Regions from separate parts of the Homo sapiens genome. Here all the other regions are linked to region 1. The links are contacts of gene promoters, found by promoter capture Hi-C in blood cells and fetal thymus (Javierre and others, 2016). All regions are on one chromosome and are shown on one strand. Each heading gives the region's core, a stretch centred on a gene start or on the middle of the fragment in contact. The rest is flanking DNA. Distances are from core to core; before and after follow the strand shown. Region 1 holds the start of FAT4 (FAT atypical cadherin 4). Region 2 has its middle 240 kb from the start of LINC02516. Region 3 has its middle 230 kb from the start of LINC02516. Region 4 has its middle 84 kb from the start of LINC02379.

Region 1 (3,081 bases), core at 322-2,821:
TACAGGCTGCCTGCATCATCAAGACTTGAATTTGCTGTCTGTCCTACTATTCTTGATTTTTTTTTTTTTACTCTAAATAAGAAAGGCACTAGGAAAGTCTTAGAGATCGTTTTCTTTGCTGCTATCCCTAGGCAAGAAGCAGGAATTAGCCTTGTAATCCGATCCTTTTAGTCTCTGCATTTAATTTTAAGCAAGAAACCAGGAGACTAAAGATGTAAGACTGACGTAGAACAGCAGAGGGCAGTATTTACTCATGACTGAACCCTCTCTGGGCGCAGAAAGTTTTACGTTTGTGAGGGATCCTTGTGGCAGAAATGTATGACATATGCCCTGTATTTGCATTGTTTGGCTTGAATTCTTATTTTCTAGGTTGGTTCCCTTAAAGGGGAAAAATATCGATCTGATTCCTAGTAACGTTTTTCTTCTTTTAAAGAAACGATGCATGCCACCACAAAAATTAACTGCAGTGAATAGTGGGTGAGTTGATCTGAGTGCATTAAGTGGCATGTGGGTATTTTTAAAAACTTAAGCTTAAATATTATTTTATTTATTTCTACTTTCTCGTATCTATTTCTCCCAGACTGAAAAGCAAAATAAAACTTTATTAGGTTTCCTTTGACTAAAAAATGTGGAGGTGGAAATACTCCATCAGGGATCAAAATTCCAAACTAACTTTGCAACAGGAAAAGATCTCCCTCTTTTCAAAGGGCTGCCATTATTATTGTTGTTGAAACCCTAAGGTTTGGGCTACTGGCACCTGGAATCCAGTTGGGAAAGAAAACAAAACAAACACTGAGTTCCCCTGGCCTTTCCTATAGTAGGAAGTCCAAAGTGCCCTTGCTACGGAGGCCTCCTGCCCCCTAGTCACCTGGAAGGTGGGGGAGAGGGGCAAGTGAGTGAAGATTTAGAGTTTAGCTCGCCCTAGACAGCAGGGAGCCCACTGTGTAGAAAGAGGAGCAAAGGGGAGGATTTGATTTGGATTCTGTGGGATCACACTGTATGGCAGCTCTATCCCTTGCATAAAGAGAGAAGGGGCAGGAAATGGTTAAAGCAAATCTGCACTGTGCATTCCCAGACAGGCTTTGCTTAATCCTTCCTCCCCGCTTTAACAGACCCTCACCCCCCGCCTTTCTTTTATTTCTCTCGACCCCCTTACCCCTGAGTTATTACTAGCATAACAACCTAACGGTCTTCCCCCAGACCCTGCCACTAAAGTTATTTATCTGCAAACCTGACCCCACCCCCATCTATTCTGCGGCAGCCTTTTGCTGTTATTGCTCTGACGCCGGCCAAGATTTGGCCGAAAAGGAAAAAAAAAAAAAAAAAAGAAAAGAAAAAAAATCACCCCCCTTTTTAGCGCCTCCGCCTCGCTGTGCTCCCACACCAGACCGCCTACAGCCCTCCGGGAGGCTGAAGTGATTAGCATCCCGAGAAGCCAGTCGGAGGCCGGGCAAGGCGGAGGGCGCTCGCGGTAGGAGTGCCGGTCGGGGCTGCTTCAGCTCCGGCCCAATGGGGCTGGGGCGAGGGAGGGGCAGAAGGTGACAGGACTGGGAGCTAGGGGGAGTCCAGGCGAACTAAAGTGCGGGGATCAATGAGTGTCGAGCAAAGTTTCTGAGTGCTGCTCCAGCTCGCGGTCTTCCCTCCCCCTCTGTTTGTGTTTCGGCGACGCGCTGTGTGTGTGTGTGTGCGTGTGTATGTGTGTGTGTGTGCATGCCTGTGCGGCGGGGAAGGGGCGGGGAGAGTGTGAGGGACCAGGCGGGAGGTGGAGAAGGGCTCGCGGAGCCCTAGCTCCACCGCAGTCCAACCTTCGGCCCCGGCCGGCGAGAGGGAGAGCGCTGACAGGCGCCGTCCGGAGCTGCGGAGGGCGTCACTACAGCCCAGCGCCGACTTCGCCGCCTCCGCTGCCAACTGTGAAGGAGAGAGAGGCATCAACCACCCCCCGCCCCAAACAAAAAGCCTTGTGGATTACAAAGTGAAACTGACACGGGACAATAAAAGCAGAGATAGCGAGGGCAGGGGCGAGGCGCGCTAGAGTGGGCTTCTGACTGGGGCCGCCGGAGAACGACCCCCCCTGGCATGGTGAGGGGAGGGCGACTCGGGGACCGCACGCTGTTTCTGCCCGACCCCTGCGAGGCCGAGAAGAAAGGGGAAACTGCGTTCGATTTGGATGTACAAATAATGGGTCGGCAGGCGCCCCGGCAGAGGTGAAAAATGCCGAGGAGCCCTGGCTGTTGTTTGTGCCGGACCACGGGCTTGAAGCCGCAACAGGGGCGGCGGCGGCGGCGGCTGCAGGAGGGGAAGGGGCAGAGTTGAGCGCTCCCGGGTACGGGAGCCAGAGCGCGAACGCTAGCGCTTGGAACGCAGTTCCCGAACTGCCTGCGCGCAGACGCCGCCGCCTGGGCCTCAGCGGCCACTGCCGGCGCCCTGTTGGAGGGGCGTTGCAGCCTGGTTTTTGAGGAGTGGGGACTCCAGGAATTCCATCGCCTCCAGCTTTTGGGAAAGAAATTCGATTCTCCCGGTTCCCCACCACCCCTTCCCCGGTGCGCAGTTGTGCTTGGACGTTTGTTCCTCCCTCTTCACGTTCTTCGCTGCGGGTAAGTTCTAAAGTTTCTGAAGACCGTTCTTTGCAATGATTCCTCATATACCTTAGATACAGGCAACTTCTCCCAACTCTCATCCACCCGGGTGAAAACGCTCAGACTATCTGGATTCAAAAACAAAGTAAAAGGGGGCATATATAAGAGGCTTGAGAAACTTTTCTGGGAACTCAGCTCACAGGAGTGTCCCGCGGAATGCCCTGCCGCTTTTCGCCACAGCATCTCTCTTGCACTCCGCGTTCAACTGGCTACCTAGAGTCTTTTGCTGATGCTACTTGCTTTTGCCGGACTGGAGGTTCTTTGAAATAGCAGAGGTCTCAGACCAAGCCGTCAGCTGAATCTTTGCTGGCGCTCCTTAATCCCTGTAAATATCATTGCGTTTGCTTCACCCCTTCCTTCTCTTTATCACATCGTTTTAGGGAGCCAGGACCATGGACTTAGCACCAGACAGGGCTACTGGCCGCCCGTGGCTCCCGTTGCACAC
Region 2 (3,081 bases), core at 207-2,706, 1.0 Mb before region 1:
AAAACAATTATCAAAATGGCAATAGAAGGTCATTACTCATCAATAATTACTTTAAATGTAAATGGATTAGATTATCCAATCGAAAGATAGAGTGGCTGAATGGATAAAAGACCAAAATTCAACTGTGTGTTGCTTATTAAAAAACTCATTTTAACTTGAAGAATGCACATATGCTGAAAGTAAAGGAATACAAAAAGATGTTTTACGCAAATGATAACCAAAACAGACCAGGATTGGCTATACTAATATCAGGCAAAATAGACTTTAAGCAAAAAACTGTAAAAAAAGACAAAGAAGGTCCTCATATAAAGATAATGGGGTCAAATTACCAAAGGATATAACAATTATAAATATAGATGCATCTAACATTTTAGCACCTAAATGTTTTTTTTTTTTTTTTAAATATTAACAGAACTGAAGGGAGAAAAAAATACAATAACAGCGGGGGACTTCAACACTCCACTTTCAACAATGAATAGGTAAGCCAGACAGAAAATCAATAAGAAAACAGCAAATTTGATTAATACTATACACTTAATGGACCTAAAAGACATATACCGAAAATTCTATCTAACAGTAGAATAATAGACATTCTTCCACAGCAGACTTGGCATACCTTCCAGGACAGATAATATGTTGGACCACAAAACAATTCTTAACATATACAAGGAGATTGAAATCGTATCATTTATCTTTTCTGACCACAATAGTATAAAACTAGGAATCAATAAAAAGAGAAAATTCAGAAAATTTACACATATGTGGAAATCAAACAACTCACTAATGAACAATTAGTGGGTCAAAGAAAAAATTTTAAAAAATTTAAAAATACGTTGAGACAAAGGAAACTAGAAAACAACATACCAAAATTACTGAGATGCAGCAAAAGCAGTTTTAAAAGGAAAGTTTATAGCAATAAATGCCTATTTTAGGAAAAAGAAAGGCTTCAAGTAAACAACCTAAGCGTATACCTTAAGAATCTAAAGAAAGAAGAACAAATGAAGCCCCAAAGTGAGCAGAAAGAAAGAAAGAATAAAGATTAGAGGAAAAGTAAATGAAATAGACATGAAAAAAATAGAAAAGATCAAGAAAACTAAAAGTTCAGTTTTTAAAAAGAAAAATAAAATTTACAAACATTTACTTAGACTAACCAAGCAAAAAAGAAGACTCAAATAAATAAAATTATAAATGAAAGAGGAAATATTACAACTGATACCACATAATGCAAAGGATCATAAAAGACAACTGTGAACAATTATAAGCCAACAAAAGGGATAACCTACAATAAGTAAATAAATGCCTAGAAACATAGAAAGGCCAAGGTTAAATCATAGAGAAATAGAAAATCTGAAAGGACTAAAAGACTAAAGAAACAGAAAATTTGCAAAGACTAGTTTGAAAAGACTAAAAGACTATGGAGTTTGAATCAGTAATCAAAAATCTCGCAACAAATAAAAGCCCAGGACCAGATGGCATCATTACTGAATCCTACCAAACATTAAAGAAGAGTTAATGCTAATGCTTCTTAAATCCTTCTAAAAAAATTGTAGAGGAAGGAATATTTCCAAATTCATTTTATGAGGCCAATATTTTCCTGACCCCAAAGCCAGAGAAGGACACTATTAAAAAAAGAAAATTACAGCCAATATCTCTGATGAATATCTCATAGGTGCAAAATCATTACTAATGTATTAACAAATGGAATCAAACAGCATGTTAAAAGGATCATACATGATGATCAAGTGGGATTTATCCCTGGAATGTGTGAATGGCTCAACATACAAAACCCACTAAATTCAATACACCATATTAATAGAATGAAATATAAAAATCATTTGATCAGGATCAGGCATGCTGGCTTATACCTGTAATTCCAGCACTTTGGGAGGCTGAGGTGGGCTGATCACTTGAAGTTAAGAGTTCGAGAACAGCGTGGCCAACATGGTCAAACTCCATCTCTACTAAAAATACAACATTAGCTGGGTGAGGTGGTGCGGGCTTGTAATCCCAGCTACTTGGGAGGCTGAGGCACGAGAATCACTTGAACCCGGGAGCAGAGGTTGTAGTAAGCTGAGATCGTGCCACTGCACTGCAGCCTGGGAGACAGAATGAAACTCCATCTCAAAACAACCAAAAAAAATTATTTGATCATTTCAGGAGACACAGAAAAAACATTTGAAAAAATTCAACACTGTTTCATGATAAAAACTTTCAACAAATTAGGTATAGATGGTGTGTACCTCAACATAATAAATGCCATATATAACAAGCCCACAGGTAACATTACAGTCAATGGTGAAAAGAAAAAAATCTTTCCTCTAAGATCAGGAACACCACCAGGATGCCCACTCTTTTTTTAATCTTCTTTTTGTGGAGAATGGGCTTTCACTATGTTGCCCAGCCTGATCTTAAGCATTTGGATTCAAGCTATCCTCCTGCCTTTGCCTCCCTGAATGCTGGGATTAAAGGTATGAATCACAATGCCCAGCCCCAGAATGCCCACTCTTACCACTTTTTTTCAACACAGTATTGCAAGTCCTAGCTAGAGCAAATAGTCAGGAAAAAGACATAAAACTCTTCCAAATTGGAATAGAAGAAGTAAATTGATCTCTGTTTGCAGACGACATGATGTTATGTAAAGAAAACCTTAAATAATACACCAAGAATGTTAGAAGTAATAAGTGAATTCAATAAAATTGCAGGATACAAAATTAACATAAAAAAGTCACCTTTTAGGCCAAGTGTGGTGGCTTATGCCTGTAATTCCAGCACTTTGGGAGGCCAAGGTGGGCAGACCACTTGAATTCAGGAGTTTGAGACCAGCCTGGCCAACATGGCTAAATCCCATCTCTACTAAAAATACAAAAATTAGCCAGGCATTGTGGCACACACCTGTAATCCCAGCTACTCAGCTGGCTAAGGCAAGAGAATTGCTTGAACCCAGGAGGTGGAGGTTGCAATGGGCCGTGATCATGCCACTCCAGCCTGGGCAACATAGTGAGACCCTGTCTCAAAAAAAGTCACCTTTTTATATACTAACAATGATTAAACAAAAGATTCCCCTTACAATAGCATGAAAAA
Region 3 (3,081 bases), core at 435-2,934, 980 kb before region 1:
GATGGAGAAGGAGCAAAGAAGCAGTGTTCATCTGTATACTGAGAAAATAATGATACAGTGTCCAGAGGGCTCAGATGAACAAAAGCAGTCATTTTGTCTTCTGCCCAACAAGTGAAAAAACATTACAAATCTTAATAACTATGTCGACTAATAATAAATAATATGTATTATGCACTCCCTGGGTTCAGGTTGCTCTTTTATGTGTGTGCACATGTGTTTGTATGTATATACATAAATGTATAGTTTATACGTAAAATACCTCAATTCACTTAAGTCACATAATAATCCATGCATGTTTGGATTAACGCTATACTTGCTTTATAGATTATAGATAATAGCGTTAAGGTAAAGGAAAATTAATTAACTGTCCTGAGTATACACACATAATCTGTTAGACGGTAAGGATTTGGACCACAGCAGCCTGGCACCAGAGCCTGTGCTATCAACTATAAAGCTATATTGCTTCTTGATGGAAGTTATTAAAATTAATCCTCCTGGTTTGGGATTCTATAAACTGCCTGTTTGTCTCTATGGCAACCATATTCAAAGCCTTCAGCTTCTAGACTCTCATGTGAAATCCCTACTAACCATAAGAACCACATGGCTCCTGTGTGTCCCACAAAACATATGCATATGATTAGATTTTATATATGACTCTTAACATCTTCCTCAAATAAATGTTCAATACTGTGAGCACTGGTTTTAGTTCATACATGAATTGTTTACATTTGATTTCCTAGTTATCAGCCTGAACAAACAAGTGAGGAAGGGAAGAAAGCGTGCACTGTCCTCCTCTTTCTAGGTCTTGAATGTATTCAAAAGTTTCATGGTTGGCCACAGGGTGAAACCTTGGAGGTCTTCCTAAAAAGTGTGGGGGAGGCCCTCAAATCCATAAAGGCAGTCAGCATGCTCCTGAATCAACTCTCAGAAAAGCACCTTCTAAGCTATTAATGATTAACATTTATGGGTATTGTTTTTTACATGCACATCCTAGTTTTGGGGGAAAATACTTACACACGTTAATTTTATGTTTTAATTCAAACCGCAAATGGCACAATGTTACATAGTAACTCAGTAGTAGAGCAGGGACTAGGGGACAAGAATTGTTCCTTTTCTTTTCTTTTTCTATTTCAGTCTTTACTGATCACCTGACATGCCAGCGACTACAACTATACAGGGCACACAGAAAAAAAAAATGCAACCCCTGTTCATCATCACCCCATCATTTACAATCTCTGATGTGATTGTAGCATCATCACTCTGCTTGGTTGGGCCTGTGAGCAGGAGTTACATAACTCAGAGCAGCAGCAATCACCAGGGCCCTGGGAGGGTAGATTTGCCTGCATCCTCTACTCACCCAGAGCCATGCAGCAAGGGCTGGATGGCTGCTAGCCCCAGAAAACCTTAGCAGACTGTGAGGCTCAATCCAGTTTTGAAAAGCGGTAAAGAATGCACCCATTGGGCCGGGCGGGGTGGCTGACACCTGTAATCCCAGCACTTTGGGAGGCCAAGGTGGGCGGATCAAGGCCGAGATCAAGAGATGGAGACTATCCTGGCCAACATGGTGAAACCCCATCTCTACTAAAAATACAACAATTAGCTGTGCATGGTGGCGTGCGCCTGTATTCCCAGCTACTTGGGAGGCTGAGGCAGGAGAATCACTTGAAACCCGGGAGGCAGAGGTTGCAGTGAGCCGAGATAGCACCACTGCACTCCAGCCTGGGCAACAGAGCAAGACTCCATCTCAAAAAAAAAAAAAAATGCATCCATCAGGAACGTTGTCTTTACCAATCCCTAGCCTCCACCCTTGGTTGCCCTGGAATTTTCTTCCATCAATCCCTCTGCTTAGTATGAGGTAAAAGGCTGAATGTATTTCAGCTATAATCAGAGGCACTAGGAAAACTGTGTGTGTGTGTCCATGAACACTCCCAGGTACATGTATGTGGGTTGGCAAATGACCTGAGGGAATATCAGGGAGGGAAGTAAAGCAATTTAAAGTACAGATGAAAGGAACTGAGGATGAGTGCACGGTTCCTGGCTCAAGATATGCTTCTCAGAAGTTTTGTAGAGTATTTAAAAGCCCTTCCTGACTTGTCAGGTAACCCACATTTTCCTAATGGTCTGAGCTAGTGGAAATGGAATGTGCTTTTTCGATAGGCTGCTCAATCTAAATCTCTGAGTATCTTCTGATTTGTCTGGTAAGCAAAATGTATGACTTCAGAAATCTTAATTGGCATTTAACGAATGACTTTTCAGCTTAAATGTTAGTCTTGCGTAATTACAACTCTTCAAGTAAAAATATGGTATTCTGGTAAAGAAATTTAATGTCTCAAAGAGGAATAGTTTCCAAATAAAAAGCTGCAGAGAACTTAAAACTACGATCATGAGATCACTGCTTTGTATAATTTATATGATACAATCATTAGATTCGTTTCCTTTATAAGTTACTTCAGACATAATACTAGAAATTATATAGACTTGCTAATGGATTCCCTTTTTAGAAAATGCTATCATATATTAATACATCTCTCTACTTCCTTATTATTAAAACATAATCCCCATTTATTTCCATTTAGAATAATCAAACAAATCAAAAGCATGATACTAAGCACTATAGTAGTAAGGTTGCATAAAAAGAAAAATGACTAAAACCACAAATCTACTGAATAATAATACTTAAGTAGAATAGTGTTATTTTATAATTTTATTAAATGAATTTAAATAAAAACAATGGTTTGTGCAGAAAGCTAAATGCTAGATTTAAAACCATAATATCAACTGGGAAAATGCCACTAGGTGGAGCCCATGGTTTCTAAGATTTTTGATAGTCTCCTCAAGTAGTCCTGGGGTAAGTATTTTCTAGCTGTTGAGTCACAGTGTTGTTAACTGTTAGGGAGAGACATTAGCTTGATATATAGGACGATCCTTTGGTTACGATTAGGAAATGGGGAAATTCGAGAATGGGGTAATCATTTTTCCTTCTGTACAAGTTTATAAAAGAATGCAAGTACAATCAGCCCATTTCTGGAAACTAACAGTAATTTAAACTGACTTTCTGAAAAAGAACAATCAATAATTTAA
Region 4 (3,081 bases), core at 385-2,884, 660 kb after region 1:
AGGAAACCAACACAAATGCTTAATTTAGAAAAAAAAAAAGTTGCCTGGGAGCAGTGACTCACACCTGTAATCCCAGCACTTTGGGAGGCCAAGGTAGGAGGATTACTTGAGGTCAGGAGTTCGAGACCAACCTGGGCCACAAAGTGAGATCCCATATCTACAAAAATTTTAAAAACATAGCCAGGTATGGTGGTGTGCACCTGTGGTCCCAGCTACATGAGAGGCTGAGGCAGGAAGCTCTTCTGAGCCTAGGAGATGGAGGCTGCAGTGACCCATGTTTATATCACTTAACTCCAGCTAAGGCAACAGAGCAAGACACTGTCACAAAAACAAACAAACAAAATGTTTAAAATAAATTATTGAAGATTGAAGATTTCAACTTAAGAAACCAGAAAAAAGAGGCAACTCATGTAACAACCATGAAAAATAACAAAAATATGAGAAGATATTTTTCCACAAAGAAACTTTAGGCCTATATGATCTACTTGTGAATTTTATTAAGCATGTAAATAATAACACATTGTAGCATGTACTTATAAAGTGAGTAAAATTCTAATATTAAATCTGATACAGAAATTAAAGAAAACAATTACAGCAATAGCCCTAATGAACATATTCACAGAAATCATTTACAAAATGTTAGTGAATCAAATGCAGCAATATGTAAAATGGAACATAATTATCTTGCCAAAATGAGGCTTATCCCACTAATACAAGACTGTCAACATTTAAAAATGTATCAATGGTGTTTCACCGTATTAACAAAATAAAGAGAAAATTCACATATAATCACTTCAATAGATGTAATTCAACACCCGTTCCATAATAAAACACTCAGTAACTATGAATATGGCATACACTGTCCACAATCAGAAAGATGGGTGTGAAAATCTATGGGGAACATCAATCATATTGGTATAATATTAATAGTTTTCTCTTTAATTTGGGGGAAAATCATGATCACCTGCTCTTCCCATTTCTATTTAACATTGTTTGGAAGTCCTAGCCCAAAAAAAATAAAATAAAATAAATCAAGAAATATGAAAAATAAATAAAAACTAGAGAAAATAAAATTAAAATTAAAAACGTAAAAGTTAGGAAGAAATATGTAAAATGACTATTTACAGACACATGGTTTTTTACATAGAAAATTCTAAAATATCTACAGCTATAGAATTAATGATTCAAGTTTTCAACATTGAAGATGCGCTACATTATGTGAAATCAGGGAAATGCAAATTAAAATAACAAGGAGATACCACTGCACTATATTATTTATTTTTTCTATTGATCTATTTAACTTATTATCATGCCAACATAGTGATGTTTACCTTAGGTGTGTAGTTTATGGAAAGCCTTGAAGTGAGGCCTCGAGCAGCCAAAATCTGGAACACGGACCACAGCAACATTGGTGATGATATGGAGCATCAGGATCTCATGCACTACTGAGGAGAACGCAAAATGGTACAGCCACTTTGGAAGACAGATTGGCAGCTTTTTACAAAATTAAACATGCCGTTACCATAAGATCCATCAAATGCACTCCTTGGTTTTTAATGAAATAAAATGAAAACTTATGTCCACACAACAAACCTAAACATAGATGTTTAAAGCAGTTTTATTTGTAATTACCCAAATTAAAAGCAACAAGATGTCCTTCAGTAGGTGAACAGATAAACTATGAAGCATTCAGATAATGGAATATTATTCAGTGCTAAAAATAAATGACCTATCAAGTTATGGAAACCACAGAGGCAACTTACATTTCTAATACTAAGTGAAAGAAGCCAATCTAAATAGGCGATACACTGTATGATCCCAAATATATGAAATTCTGGGAAAAAAAATCAATAGAGACATTAAAACTGTCAGGCTAAGGGTTGGAAGGTGGAGGATGAATAGGCAAAGTACGAAGAGTCTGTGGGGTGTGAAAATACTTTGTATGATGCAATAATGATGGATAAGTCATTATACATTGTCCAAACCCACAGAACGTCCAACAAACACCAGGAGTGAATGCTCATGTGAACCACGGACTTTCAGTGATAATGATGTGTCGTGTAGGTTAACCAATGGTAAAAATGTACGACTCTGGTGACACATTTCACCCCATCCCCTTGGGAGATGCTGATAATGAGAAAGGCTACGCATGTGCATGTGTGTGGGGAGGAAATACAGGGGAAATCTCTGTACCTTCCTCTTAATTTTGCTGTTTATCTGAAACTGCTCTAAATATTTTTAATAATAATTTTAAAAATCAGCAAGTTTGCAAGATTTGTCATCTTATATAACATTCAATTACACTTAAATATGACAGTAAAAATATTGAAAAATGGAATTTAAAAATCCAATTACCAATAGCATCCAAAAATAAATGGCAAAAATTCATCTAGCAAATAATTTGAAACACCTTCCTGTACACTGAAAACTATAAGAGATTACCAAAAAAAGGTAATGAATACTTTAATAAATGGATAAATAAATGTATTCCCATGTTAGAAAACTCAATTTTGTTAAAATTTTCAATTTTGTTAGTAGAATTTTTATGGAAAATCACAAGTTTTTCTGCAATTCATTCTAACATATGTATGGAAATGTACAAGATCTACAATAGTCAAACAATCTTGAAAATTAAAACAATTTGGAGGACTTAAAATATCTCACTTCCAGCCAGGCACAGTGGCTCATGCCTTTAATCTCAGCACTTTGGGAGGCTGAGGCGGGTGGATCACTTGAGTGCAGGAGTTCGAGACCAGCCTCGCCAACATGGTGAAACACTGTCTCCACTAAAAATATGGAAATTAGCCAGGCGTGGCTGCACACACCTGTAATCACAGCTACTCGGGAGGCTGGGACAGGAAAATCCCTTGAACCCAGGAGGCAGAGGTTGCTGTGAGCCTAGATAGAGACACTGTACTCCAGCCTGGGCAAAGAGTGAGACTGGGCAAATAGCGACAACAACAAAAAACTCACTTCAAGGCTTTCCATAAACTACACACCTAAGGTAAATATCACTGTGTTGGCATGATAATAAGCTAAATAGATCAATAGAAAAAATAAAGAATTCAGAAACAGACCCAG

Evidence for each region. The method cuts DNA at HindIII sites, captures the fragments that hold promoters and counts their contacts. A CHiCAGO score of 5 or more calls a contact.
Region 2: a fragment that was not itself captured here is called in contact with the fragment with the promoter of FAT4 in region 1 in 2 of 17 cell types (M2 macrophages and M0 macrophages); the score reaches 8.6 in M2 macrophages.
Region 3: a fragment that was not itself captured here is called in contact with the fragment with the promoter of FAT4 in region 1 in 5 of 17 cell types (M2 macrophages, M1 macrophages, M0 macrophages and 2 more); the score reaches 17.4 in M2 macrophages.
Region 4: a contact is called between a fragment that was not itself captured here and the fragment with the promoter of FAT4 in region 1, in 1 of 17 cell types (megakaryocytes). The highest score is 6.3, in megakaryocytes.

What each region holds. Positions count from the first base shown.
Region 1 is chr4:125,313,384-125,316,464 of GRCh38, forward strand. It overlaps FAT4 (FAT atypical cadherin 4), which reads left to right and starts at 1,572. Exons shown (of 18, transcript NM_001291303.3): 1 at 1,572-2,594; 2 at 3,017-3,081. The coding sequence starts at 3,029. The HindIII fragment of the contact is 5,556 bases long and covers 529-3,081 here.
Region 2 is chr4:124,314,932-124,318,012 of GRCh38, forward strand. No RefSeq gene overlaps it. Among named protein-coding and RNA genes, the nearest start is that of LINC02516, 240 kb to the right of the region's middle. The HindIII fragment of the contact is 5,621 bases long and covers 1-3,081 here.
Region 3 is chr4:124,331,436-124,334,516 of GRCh38, forward strand. No RefSeq gene overlaps it. Among named protein-coding and RNA genes, the nearest start is that of LINC02516, 230 kb to the right of the region's middle. The HindIII fragment of the contact is 3,584 bases long and covers 1-3,081 here.
Region 4 is chr4:125,978,113-125,981,193 of GRCh38, forward strand. No RefSeq gene overlaps it. Among named protein-coding and RNA genes, the nearest start is that of LINC02379, 84 kb to the right of the region's middle. The HindIII fragment of the contact is 3,481 bases long and covers 1-3,081 here.